Regions from separate parts of the Homo sapiens genome. Here region 2 is linked to region 1. Evidence: promoter capture Hi-C in 16 types of primary human blood cells and fetal thymus (Javierre and others, 2016). All regions are on one chromosome and are shown on one strand. Each heading gives the region's core, a stretch centred on a gene start or on the middle of the fragment in contact. The rest is flanking DNA. Distances are from core to core; before and after follow the strand shown. Region 1 holds the start of C3orf36 (chromosome 3 putative open reading frame 36). Region 2 has its middle 51 kb from the start of LINC02000.

The links. Contacts are between HindIII fragments. The CHiCAGO score rates a contact against its expected background, and 5 or more counts as called.
Region 2: a contact is called between a fragment that was not itself captured here and the fragment with the promoter of C3orf36 in region 1, in 1 of 17 cell types (endothelial precursors). The highest score is 5.7, in endothelial precursors.

The regions. Positions count from the first base shown.
Region 1 is chr3:133,926,699-133,931,870 of GRCh38, reverse strand. It overlaps C3orf36 (chromosome 3 putative open reading frame 36), which reads left to right and starts at 2,059. Exons shown (of 1, transcript NR_161373.1): 1 at 2,059-3,726. RefSeq lists a silencer at 3,901-4,430. The HindIII fragment of the contact is 5,965 bases long and covers 334-5,172 here.
Region 2 is chr3:134,106,534-134,111,705 of GRCh38, reverse strand. No RefSeq gene overlaps it. Among named protein-coding and RNA genes, the nearest start is that of LINC02000, 51 kb to the right of the region's middle. The HindIII fragment of the contact is 1,108 bases long and covers 2,376-3,483 here.

The DNA.
Region 1 (5,172 bases), core at 810-3,309:
CTGTGGGTCTAATGGGGACCCAGGAATGGCTCTTTTAACGGCCCCCTCATGAGATTGATGTGGGTAGTTCCCAAATCCTGTGAGGTGGGCTGTCAGTGCAATAGAGCCTGGGGTATGCCCATTTGTGCTTAGGCCACTGAGAAATTTACAGGCTCGATAGGCCTTTGGTATGTTCAAAGGTGAGTGAAGGATAACAAGGTGAAGAGATGCCTGTGAATCTGATTTTTTGGATGGCTGCAACTAAGAGTCAATGGGCATGAAAAACAATCCAAGAGCTCACATTTATATGAGGCCCTTATCAGTACTGAGAGAGACATTCTCACTTCACAAGCTTGGATGTGCAAAAAGAAAAAAATCACTTATTTCTTTAAATCAGTTATTGATTTCAAACCCCCCATCCTACTGTCTGGCTGGAAATTCAATATCAACCATGCTTGGGTCTGGCTCCTAGAGCCATCTGAAGGTCCTTGGATGCCTACGCATTCAAGGGTGCCATTGTGGGTCTTTGGTCCCTTTCCCATTTGAGGCTGTTTAATGGCCCTGCTTCTCACCTGAGCCTGGAAACCCTACAAAGCCGAGACCCCAGGGTTAGGCCCACCTCCCTGTGCACACTCGCGGCTATGCCCTCTCCCGGCCCCAGTCCTAGGAAGCCCACTCCTCTGCACCACTCCCTCTCCCTACAGAATCCCGCTCCTCAAGGGCTGAACAAAAAAGCCGGAAAAGGAAGAGTGTGCAGGAACCTTTTTTATTCAATCCTTCTTTTACCCTTCTTGGAAAAAGCGCAAATACAGTGATAACTAAATACCGTATCTCTATCAATTATCCTTTGGCCCAAAGCCCTTTGGGGTGATCCTCCATGATGGATGCCCCATGTAAAGGTGAGGAATCTGATCCCGAGGAAGCAACCATTGTGGCCAATTTCACATAGATAATAGCTGGCCAGGTCTAGACTCAAACCAGGCTGTCCACTTCTCTCTGGTCCAGCCCAATTGCCCCAGCTGAGTCATTCTGAAGAGTCAGCATGGACTAAAATGGTGGGGAGGCCCCTCTTTTCCCACTGATGTTCACTGGCCCATGGGAGGGAAGTGGGGGAATCTCTTGAGGGCCATTAAGGTGGGTAACAAAGGCAAAAGAACCAGGTAACAGTTCATTTACTTACCTTCTATTCAACTAGCAACAACATCACAACTATTCATTAAACAGGGCCAATTTATCCCTATAGCACCATGAGTTAAAGAGAGTTGTGGAGAAAAGAGACAAAGAGGGAAGGGTTTTGAGAAGAAAAGGCCCTGAGAATCCTGCACACAGACCTTCAAGGGAACAGCTCCATCTGGTGACTGCTTAGCAGATTCTTGCTCAAGAAACAAAGCCATATTGTGATTTTATTCAACCACTCTCAAAGATGGAGAGATACAGTTAAGCTGGAGGCTGAAGCCAGTCAGTATCAAATTGATACTAAAATATTATATTGCAGCAAATCCAGAAGAAATACATCCTATCTTTCGCAACCACAGGAAGTAAATACCTGGAAGAAAGGTCCATCTCCTGCCAGTAGCACCAGACACCAGATTCATTATAACCTTTCATCAGAGATTAAATATGGAAACAGATCCTGGAAAAGCCCTTGGCAAATCATAAATGAGAGGAAGTTTTTCTCCATGGCATACCCTGGCCATTCCTCCACTCTCCAGCCACATCATGTCTCCAGCCCTGCTACAACTTGACAGCAATAATAATAACTAAAATGTGCACAGATCTTTACAGTTTACCAAGCCATTAACCCATTTAAAACACTTCTTTAATCAGTAAATCAGTGGGGAAAGGCTTGGCTATGCTGTGGTAACAAACCTCTCGAATCTTAGTCACTTGACACAACAAAAGATGGTATCTCGCTCACAGAACCTGTGGTGATCTGGGTGACTCTCAGGTCAGTGGCTCAGTAGTGCCCCTCTGCCTGCTCAGGGCCTGGAGGATTGGCCTGAGAGCCCCCCCAACCAGTGTCTCAGTAACTCAGACTGTTTGGAACCTGAGGTACCTCCATTTCATTATAAGCTGCCATGATGGATGGGGCAGGGGAAGAAAGTCCTGGAAGATCCCGCACTGCTAAGCAATGCTTTGTCCCAAAGTAACGCTCTTCACTCTGCTCCCAGCCTAGCTGCCGCAAGAGCGGAACAGAATATTCTGTGTGCTCAGGAGAAGAAAAGAGCAGATATGGTTGAGCACTAAAACCCTCTACTGTGGGTAGTGAACCTAGGTGGACACAGTTGCTCACCGGGACACTTAAACCAGCTTTGCGGGGCTGTCGGGGTTGGGAAGCACAGTCTGGAAAGATTTCCCAATGGAGGAAGCACCAATTGTGGGTCCCTGAAGCTGAGGGGATGATGCCCAGGCAAGGCCGAGGCAGTCTGCAGAGGGCTGGGGAGGTGGGAAAGACGATTTTGCTCAGAGGAGGCAGAGATGGGGTGGTGGCTGAGAGAGATGCAGGGTCAAGGAAAGGATGGCTTCAGAGAGGAGAGATTTGCTGGGGCAAAAGGCCACAGGATGGGGAGGCTGCGGGGTCCAAGAGGACAGCTGATGGAGCGAGACCCTGCAGGCAAGGAGGAGATGGGGTGACTCATGGCAGAATCGCACCAGAGTTCCCACAGCCCTGTGCGGCCACTATGACTAGTCCCATCCTGTACATGGAGAAAACGAGGCTCCTTCCAGTTGTCCCTCACGCCTCCCTTGATTTATGTACTACCTGATGTGTATAAGGACAGGTGGTGACAAACACATGGTCCCTACCCTTCAAGGACATATAATCCAGAGCTAAGACAAGACCTTAACACAGGGCAAAGTACTATGCTCTGAGTTCATTTGATGAGCGATGGGAGAACGGGCTTGATCCTAGCCATGCGGGAGAGACTGGAATTCAAGAGAGTCAAATGTGCTGGGAAAGACTTTCTGGGCAAAAGGAATAAGCAAAGGTGTGCAAAGGTAAGGAAGCAGGAAACCTTTGCACATCTTGAGAACTCGCCGGCCAGAGGCCTGTGAAGGAGCGCAGTGGTCAGGCAGGAGAGGCAGTCGGATGCAGGCTGAGACCATCCTGGAGGGTCTTGAGGCTGGCTTACCCCAGGCTGTGAGTAGTGGGCTCAGCCTAGTCCCGGCTCCTGGGTTAGTGCTCACGTGTCTCTCTGCCCCCTCAGGGCCTGGAGGAATGGCCTTAGAGCCCCCACCAACCACGCTCAGGAAGGCATTCCTAGCTCAGAGTACCCTCCTGGAGTCTACACTGGAAGGGGCTCCTGAGTGGGCCGCGCCACACCCCGAGGAGCAGAGGCGCAGTCCTCCCGCGTGCTCCCAGCACACTCCACCCCTACCCAGCACACCCACGGGGCCCCCACCTTGCTCACCTGGGGGGAACCACCCACTCTGCGCCCTCTCAGGGAGAGGTGGTGGCCGCTGCTCTATCCCCTCCCTCTCTTCCTCTTCCACCTTCTCTCTCTTCTCATCTGGGTGCTGGAACCCAAGGGTGAAACTGAGAGTCAGAAAGTCTCAGTCTCAAGGCAGAGCGGGGCAACTAATTTAAAACGGCTTCTACTCCGGCCCCCAGTGTGACTAATCTCCTTCTCTTCGCTCCACAGGTCTATAAATGGGCCACAGTAGGCACCCCTTTTTAAATCTGTAAAATCCCCAAATCCATTAAAAGTGACTTCAGAGGTCCCAGATAGGGACCAACATTTGTTTAAACCTTTTCCTCATTACATCTCATGACCGCCAGCTTACAAAAGAGAGACTGGGGGTTCTGGATGAGACGTATGCAATCCCTGAGTCCACCTTGGAAAGGACAGAGGCAGGTGTCACACCGTTCCTCTTTGACCCGAATCGCTTGAATCCCAGAGTTTCAACAGCTCAGGTGGGTTGAAGGCTCAGAATGTACCAGACATCCGAAGCGCTTTACATACATTTGCTCCTTGAATCTTCACGACAGCCCTGTGAGATGCAATAATCATGCCATTCCACAGACGAGGAAACGGGCCCAGGGGACTGCGGTCTCGGCTCCTTTCCTCTGGCTTTCTCAGAAAAGGCGCGGAGGCCCCCGCCGGGTGGGCGAGGCGGGGTGGGCGGCCCCTTGCGCCCTGGAGTCGCATTCCGCCACCAGGGGGCGCCGCCCCTCCGCCGCGGCCCGGGGAAGCCACCCGCGGAGGCGCCACGCCCAGCCCGCCCACGGGACGCCCCCGCGGCCCCACAGCCAGCCGGGCGGGACTCCACCACCCGGCTCAGCGCGCCTCCGATAGCCCGCTTCCCCGCCGGGGCGCCCTCGGGCCTGCGGGGCTCCCCGCGCCCACCGCACGCACGCACGCACGCCTTCCCCTACTCGGAGGGCCCGGCGGCTGAGCCCACCGGCGCCTGCTCACGGGACACAGCCTCGAGAAAACTTCCTCTCTGACTGCCCGCGATAAAGCACCGTTTAGTCTATTTATGTTTTCTGCACGAAAGTGTATTAAACACGTTAGAGAACAAGAGGAGTAGAGAGTAAGGTGCCACGAGGCACCGAGAGGGCCCGCGGGAACACACGGCTTCCTCAGGCTCTCTGACCGGCCGTGAGCAGGGTGGTCCCCGGCCGCATTGTGGGGCCATTCGCACCCAGAAGCTGTCAGCCTCCCCACTGCGTCACTGGCACCATCTGGGAACCATTATTCAGCCACTGCAGGGGGCTAGGTAGCCTCTGCTTCCTCCTTCCAATTCCCAAAACCTTCACCACAGCACCTCCTGGGGCCTGGCCCCGAGATAGGCTTGCATGTCGGAAAGAAACTGTTGTCAGCATTCCAGGCACTGTCCACCCCGGGAAAGGGGCAGGTACCCATCCCGTCACAGACTCAGGTACCCGGGCAAGCCGGGCACCAGGCCTATAGAGGTGAACAAGACAAACAGAAGGCAGACAGACAACCAAGAAAGCATCCAAACTGTGGCTGCAATTGGCTGATCAATTACAGGTGCAATAGTGCCATGAAGGAGAAGTGCAAACAGACAGACAGATGCCTGCATGGAAATGCAGGGGGAAGCCGGTGTATGTGGTGGATTAACAAAGGTGAAAGAGGCCCGTTCCCTAGGGATTGGAGATCTGGAGCAGAGATGAGCTCTAACTGTGCCTGGAAGGATAGGGTAAGTTTGTTGACAGGGGCCTTAGAGAAG
Region 2 (5,172 bases), core at 1,680-4,179, 180 kb before region 1:
AATCTCTTTATTCTTTATTGGTCTGATTAAATTTTGTTTCTTTATGATTCTGTCTTGGTGGTTTGTGTGTTTCTAGGAATTTATCCATTTCTTCTAGGTTATCCAATTTCTTAGTGTATAATTGTTCATAATATTCCCAATAATTTTTTTTTTATTTCTGTGGCAATGGTTGTAATGTCTCCCTTTAACTTCTGATTTTAGTGATTTGAGTCTTCTCTCTTTTTCTTAATCTAGTTAAGTTTTGTCAATTTTGTTGATCTTTCAAAAAACCAACTCATTTTCTTCCTTTGCTGGCTTTGGGTTTAGTGTGTTCTTCATTTTAGTTTCTTAAGGTATATAATTAGGCTTTCTGAATTGAGATCTTTCTTCTTTTTAATATACATGTTTACAGCTATGAAATTCCCTCATAGCACTTTCACTGCATTCCATAAGTGTTGGTATGTTGTGTTCTTATTTTTAATAGTTTCTAATTTCTCTTTTGACCTTGTCTTTGACACATTGGTTGTTTAAGAGTGTGTGAATTTTCACATTTGTGGACTTACTGTTTTCCTTGTTCTATTGACTTCTAGTTTCATTCCGTTGTGTTTAAAAAGATATCTTGTGTGATTTCAACCTTCTTGAATTTGTTAAGATTTGTTTTGTGGCCTATTACGTGATCTATGTTGGAGAATGTTCTATGTACACTTGAGAATAATGTATATTCTGTTTTTGTTGGGTAAATGTTCTGTATATGACAGTCATTATAAATTCTTTGTCAGGCAACTCATAGATGTGCTTTCCTTTAGGCTTTTTGGGGGAGGTTTATTTTGTTACTTTGATTGGGCCATGTTTCCCTGTTTCTTTGTGTGTCTTGTAATTTTTTGCTGAGATTTGGGCATTTAAAAAAAACAAACACCTCTTCCAGGCTTTGTATCAGCATTAGGCAGAGGAAGGTCTTCATCATTCAGCCCAGCTGGACCTCTCAAATAATTTCTGATCTCTTGCTATTCCTGGTATCTACCTGTAGAGCTATAGCTCTAATGTGATGCTTGCCTCTGTTTACAGTGGTTTCCAAAATCTTGCTCCAGTTTGTCAGCACTCTGAGTCAGGTGAGACAGAAACCAGTCCCTTGGGCAGGCCCAGAAAAGCTATAATATTGGACATATGTTCTGATCTATTTTTTTTTTTTTTTCAGATGGAGTCTCGCTCTGTCACCCAGGCTGGAGTGCAGTGGCTTGATCTCGGCTCACTGCAGCCTCCGCCTCTTCTGTTCAAGCGATTCTCCTGCCTCAGCCTCCCAAGTAGCTGAGACTACAGGAGTATGCCACCACACCTGGCTAATTTTTTTGTATTTTTAGTAGAGATGGGGTTTCACCATGTTGGTCAGGCTGGTCTCAAACTCCTGACCTCAAATGATCTGCCCGCCTCAGCCTCCCAAAGTGCTGGGATTACAGGCTTGAGCCACCATACCCAGCCCTGATCTTTTGTTTTTATTCTAAGGGAGGAGCTCTTGTATGGTGACAGTTGAGGGGGATTCCTCCTGCTTGCTCTGTGCTATGCAGGGGGAAGGGCATGAATAGCCCACCAAACACTGCAAATTTCCTACAGCTTTCACTGGAATCCCTTTTTGGTTTTACAATGGCGTGGGTGCTGTAGCTTTTCAGTTGGTCTCTGGAGTTCTCACAGAGGTATTCTGTTTCATATATTGTTGATAACTCAGTATATCTGTGTGGGAAAGAGGGTCTGTAGCTTCCTAGCCTATCATCTTGCTGATGTCACTTTCCTCATTTCTAAATAGTTTAAGGTATGACTTTGATTGAATGTTCTTATAAACCTCAAATAATTTAGGAAATTGAATTCTTGGCTGGGCGCGGTGTCTCATGCCTGTCATCCCAGCACTTTGGGAGGCGGAGGCAGGCAGATCACGAGGTCAGGAAATCGAGACTATCCTGGCTAACATGGTGAAACCCTGTCTCTACTAAAAATACAAAACATTATCCAGGTGTGGTGCCACGTGCCTGTAGTCCCAGCTACTTGGGAGGCTGAGGCAGGAGAATCCCTTGAACCTGGGAGGCAGAGGTTGCAGTGAGCCGAGATTGTGCCACTGCACTCCAGCCTGGGTGACAGAACGAGACAGTCTTAAAAAATAAAAATAAAAAAGAAAAGAAAAGAAAATTGAATTATTTTCAAGTAGGCGTGTGTGTGTGTTTGTCTGTGTGATTACTATTTTCTAATTATACTGAATTATGGTTAGCAAATATGGCATATGTGTTTCTTATTCTGAGAACTTTTGGAGATTTCCTTTGTGGCCTATTACCTGGTAAGCTTTTGTGGAAGTTCTATGTGTATTCTGTTTTTTGAGTACAAAGTTCTAACTTTATCTTTTGTACTAAGCTTCTTAATTTTGCTTTTTAAATTCTCTATATTATTATTTATAATTTTCAACCACATGATTGACCAGTTTCTAAGAGAAACTGAGGAATATTTTTGGGACTCAGATTTTTGGGACATATCTATTATCACTATGATAATAGATATGTAAATTTGGCCTTTTATACCTGCCAGTTTTTATTTCACGTATTGCAAAACATGTTTGGTGCATAAAGGTTTATGACTGCCATGTTTTCTTATTAATAAGGGGTATAATCCTTTTATTGTACTTCTTATCAAGTACCTCTTATTATACCTCTTATCAAATATCCTCCTCTGCCCCAGTTTGTGATTTTTACTGTTTTGACTGATACTAATAATGCTATACTTGCCTTCCTCTTAGCGTTTGCATGTTATATCTTTACCTATCCTTGATTGTTTTAGCAGGCTATGTTTTCAAAACTATGTAATTTTAATTTTAAAAATGTAACCCAATAGCCTTTTTAAAATAGGTGAATTTATCCCAGTTACATTTATCATGATTATTAATATCTCATTACAGTTGTTGATGCCTACCAGCCAAAGACCAACAGAAATAGGCTTGTCGTCAAACAAAGTTTGGTTTATTGGTACTTATTGCAACAAGGGCAACACCCCAAAGTTCCCCATGGTATGTGGTCTCCCTTGTTGCAACAAAGACCAATAATTTTGTTCAACGAAACCTGTGCTCCTGGTGGTCTTTGACTTGTGGATATCAACATAGTAAAGCGCTCTCTTTCTCTCTCTCTCTCCATCTGTGTGTGTGTGTGTGTGTGTGTGTGTGTGTGTGTGTGTGTGTGTGTTGTCTTTCCCAAATACATGCTATCTCTTCAAATGTTTCTTGCTACCTAGCTATCTTGGGAATCTATTTCCATTTCTTATCTCCACCCCTTAATCTCTGTTTCTGTCTTTATGTCTGTGTCTGTTACACACACACACACACACACACACACACACACACACACCCCTTAACTTGACTCTGCCACATTTAGTTAAGCCAGATTTGCTGGCCAGAACAATGTCTGCTGCCTTGTGAGCCTTGGAGTCGAGGGTAAGGAGGAGAGATGATGGATAGAGATTTGGCTCAGCAAAGCTTTCAAGAATTTTCCTAACATGGCAGCAAAGAATCATCACAACAAATGCCATCTCCCATCCTGATAGTTCTTGATAGCTGATGACCCTGTGACACTATGGGTTTAATCATACTCTTACTGCTTGGATTCGATTGTCTGTATAATTAGGATCAAAACAATACAGTTTGTACTTTCTTTTTTATCTCCACTTCCTTTTATAGCTTAAGATCTTGTGTGCCACAGAACCAACACCTTCACTTCTGATCTTTGGAACATTTGCACATTAGATAATCAGAGTCAGTCTGGAAAGGAAGAGGTAGAGACTGGGGAGAAATGAGACTGGGGCCTTGGACCAGAAACCAATGTGGGGTAGTTTTATTAAACTCTCTCACCTATATTCTAATCATTACAAAAAATGCCTTCCATCTACACTGTACCTTCATAGATACAACCTCTTTTGTTTATTGAAAGAACCCTGAGAAATAGACATGCAAAATATCAATGCGTCCATTTTATTGATTAGGGAATTAGAGTTATGATTGGATCCTTGCCTTGTCCACTCATTACTGCATGGACATGTGCCTGTTTGTGTACCAAGCCTTGGGGTTCAGGAGTCAATTAAACATGCTGACTGACTGGAAGAGCCAGCTGTGGTGAAGGAGGCTTACTGTTGATGATCCACAGTGTGATACAGCCTCGACCTGCAGGGCAGATGATACTGGAGGTGTGAATGGTTGTGGGCAGCTGACTGAGCCCCAAGTGCTCCCTGGGGGATCAGGGAAGAACATGAGGGAGGCCTTAAAGGTGAGACAGTGTTGCCAGAGAAAAGGAGGATGGGACAGGAAGGGCTTTTAGGTTGAGGGAACAGCACATATGGAGTGGAGCAGAGCTGGATCCAGGTGCCCATGGGCAGTTGGGGGAGGCAAGGCAGAGTAGCTGAGGCCATGGAGCTGGTGCCCTGGGTGTCTGTCCCCTTACCCTTGGCTAGTTCACCTTCCACACATTATGTAGCCTGGCAGTCTCCATCACTGGGCATGTTCCTAAAAATTTCCAGTATGCTCTCCTGTCCATCAGCAGCTCTCCATTCCCTGTTCTGTGTTCTGTCCCTCAGTCCTGGTGTCCTTCCCTAATTCCAGGGCCAGTCCTACCTCTAGACATTTTGATTTGTTATCCAATACAGTTCCTTGGATTATTTATACCAGGTGAGTCAGGTTTTGTTTGTTTGATTGTTTGTTTTATTTTGTCACTTACAACAAAAAAAGCCCCGAAAAACCACTGGAAAAATACCTGGTACACCCTAGTGCAAGGCCTTTTAAGAAAAGAAGGTTGGAGAAGGAAGATTCAGCCTCAAGGTCCAAGTGAATGTAAGATATCTGGGCATGCAGAACAGGCCCAGATAACTCCCCAGCCCCACTACAAGTGCAGAGGAAATGAAACAGAAAGATAGTCATGGCCAGACTCGCACTGAAAAGAGAAGTGTCCAGTTTCCTTCATGCCAGGGGCATGGAGGAAACAGCACAGCCAAAGTTGACCTTGAAGGTTAATGAGTAGTCTGAGTTATGGTCAATCAGATCGGTAAATCTGTCTCTCTTTTTGAGTTGCTAATAATCAGGGAAGAGAGGCAGAGGGTAGAAAAAATGGGGACAGAAAAGTTTCCCCACCAGAATTCGTTTTAAGGAAAGTGAATTCAGACTAGAAGAGGCTGAGGAGT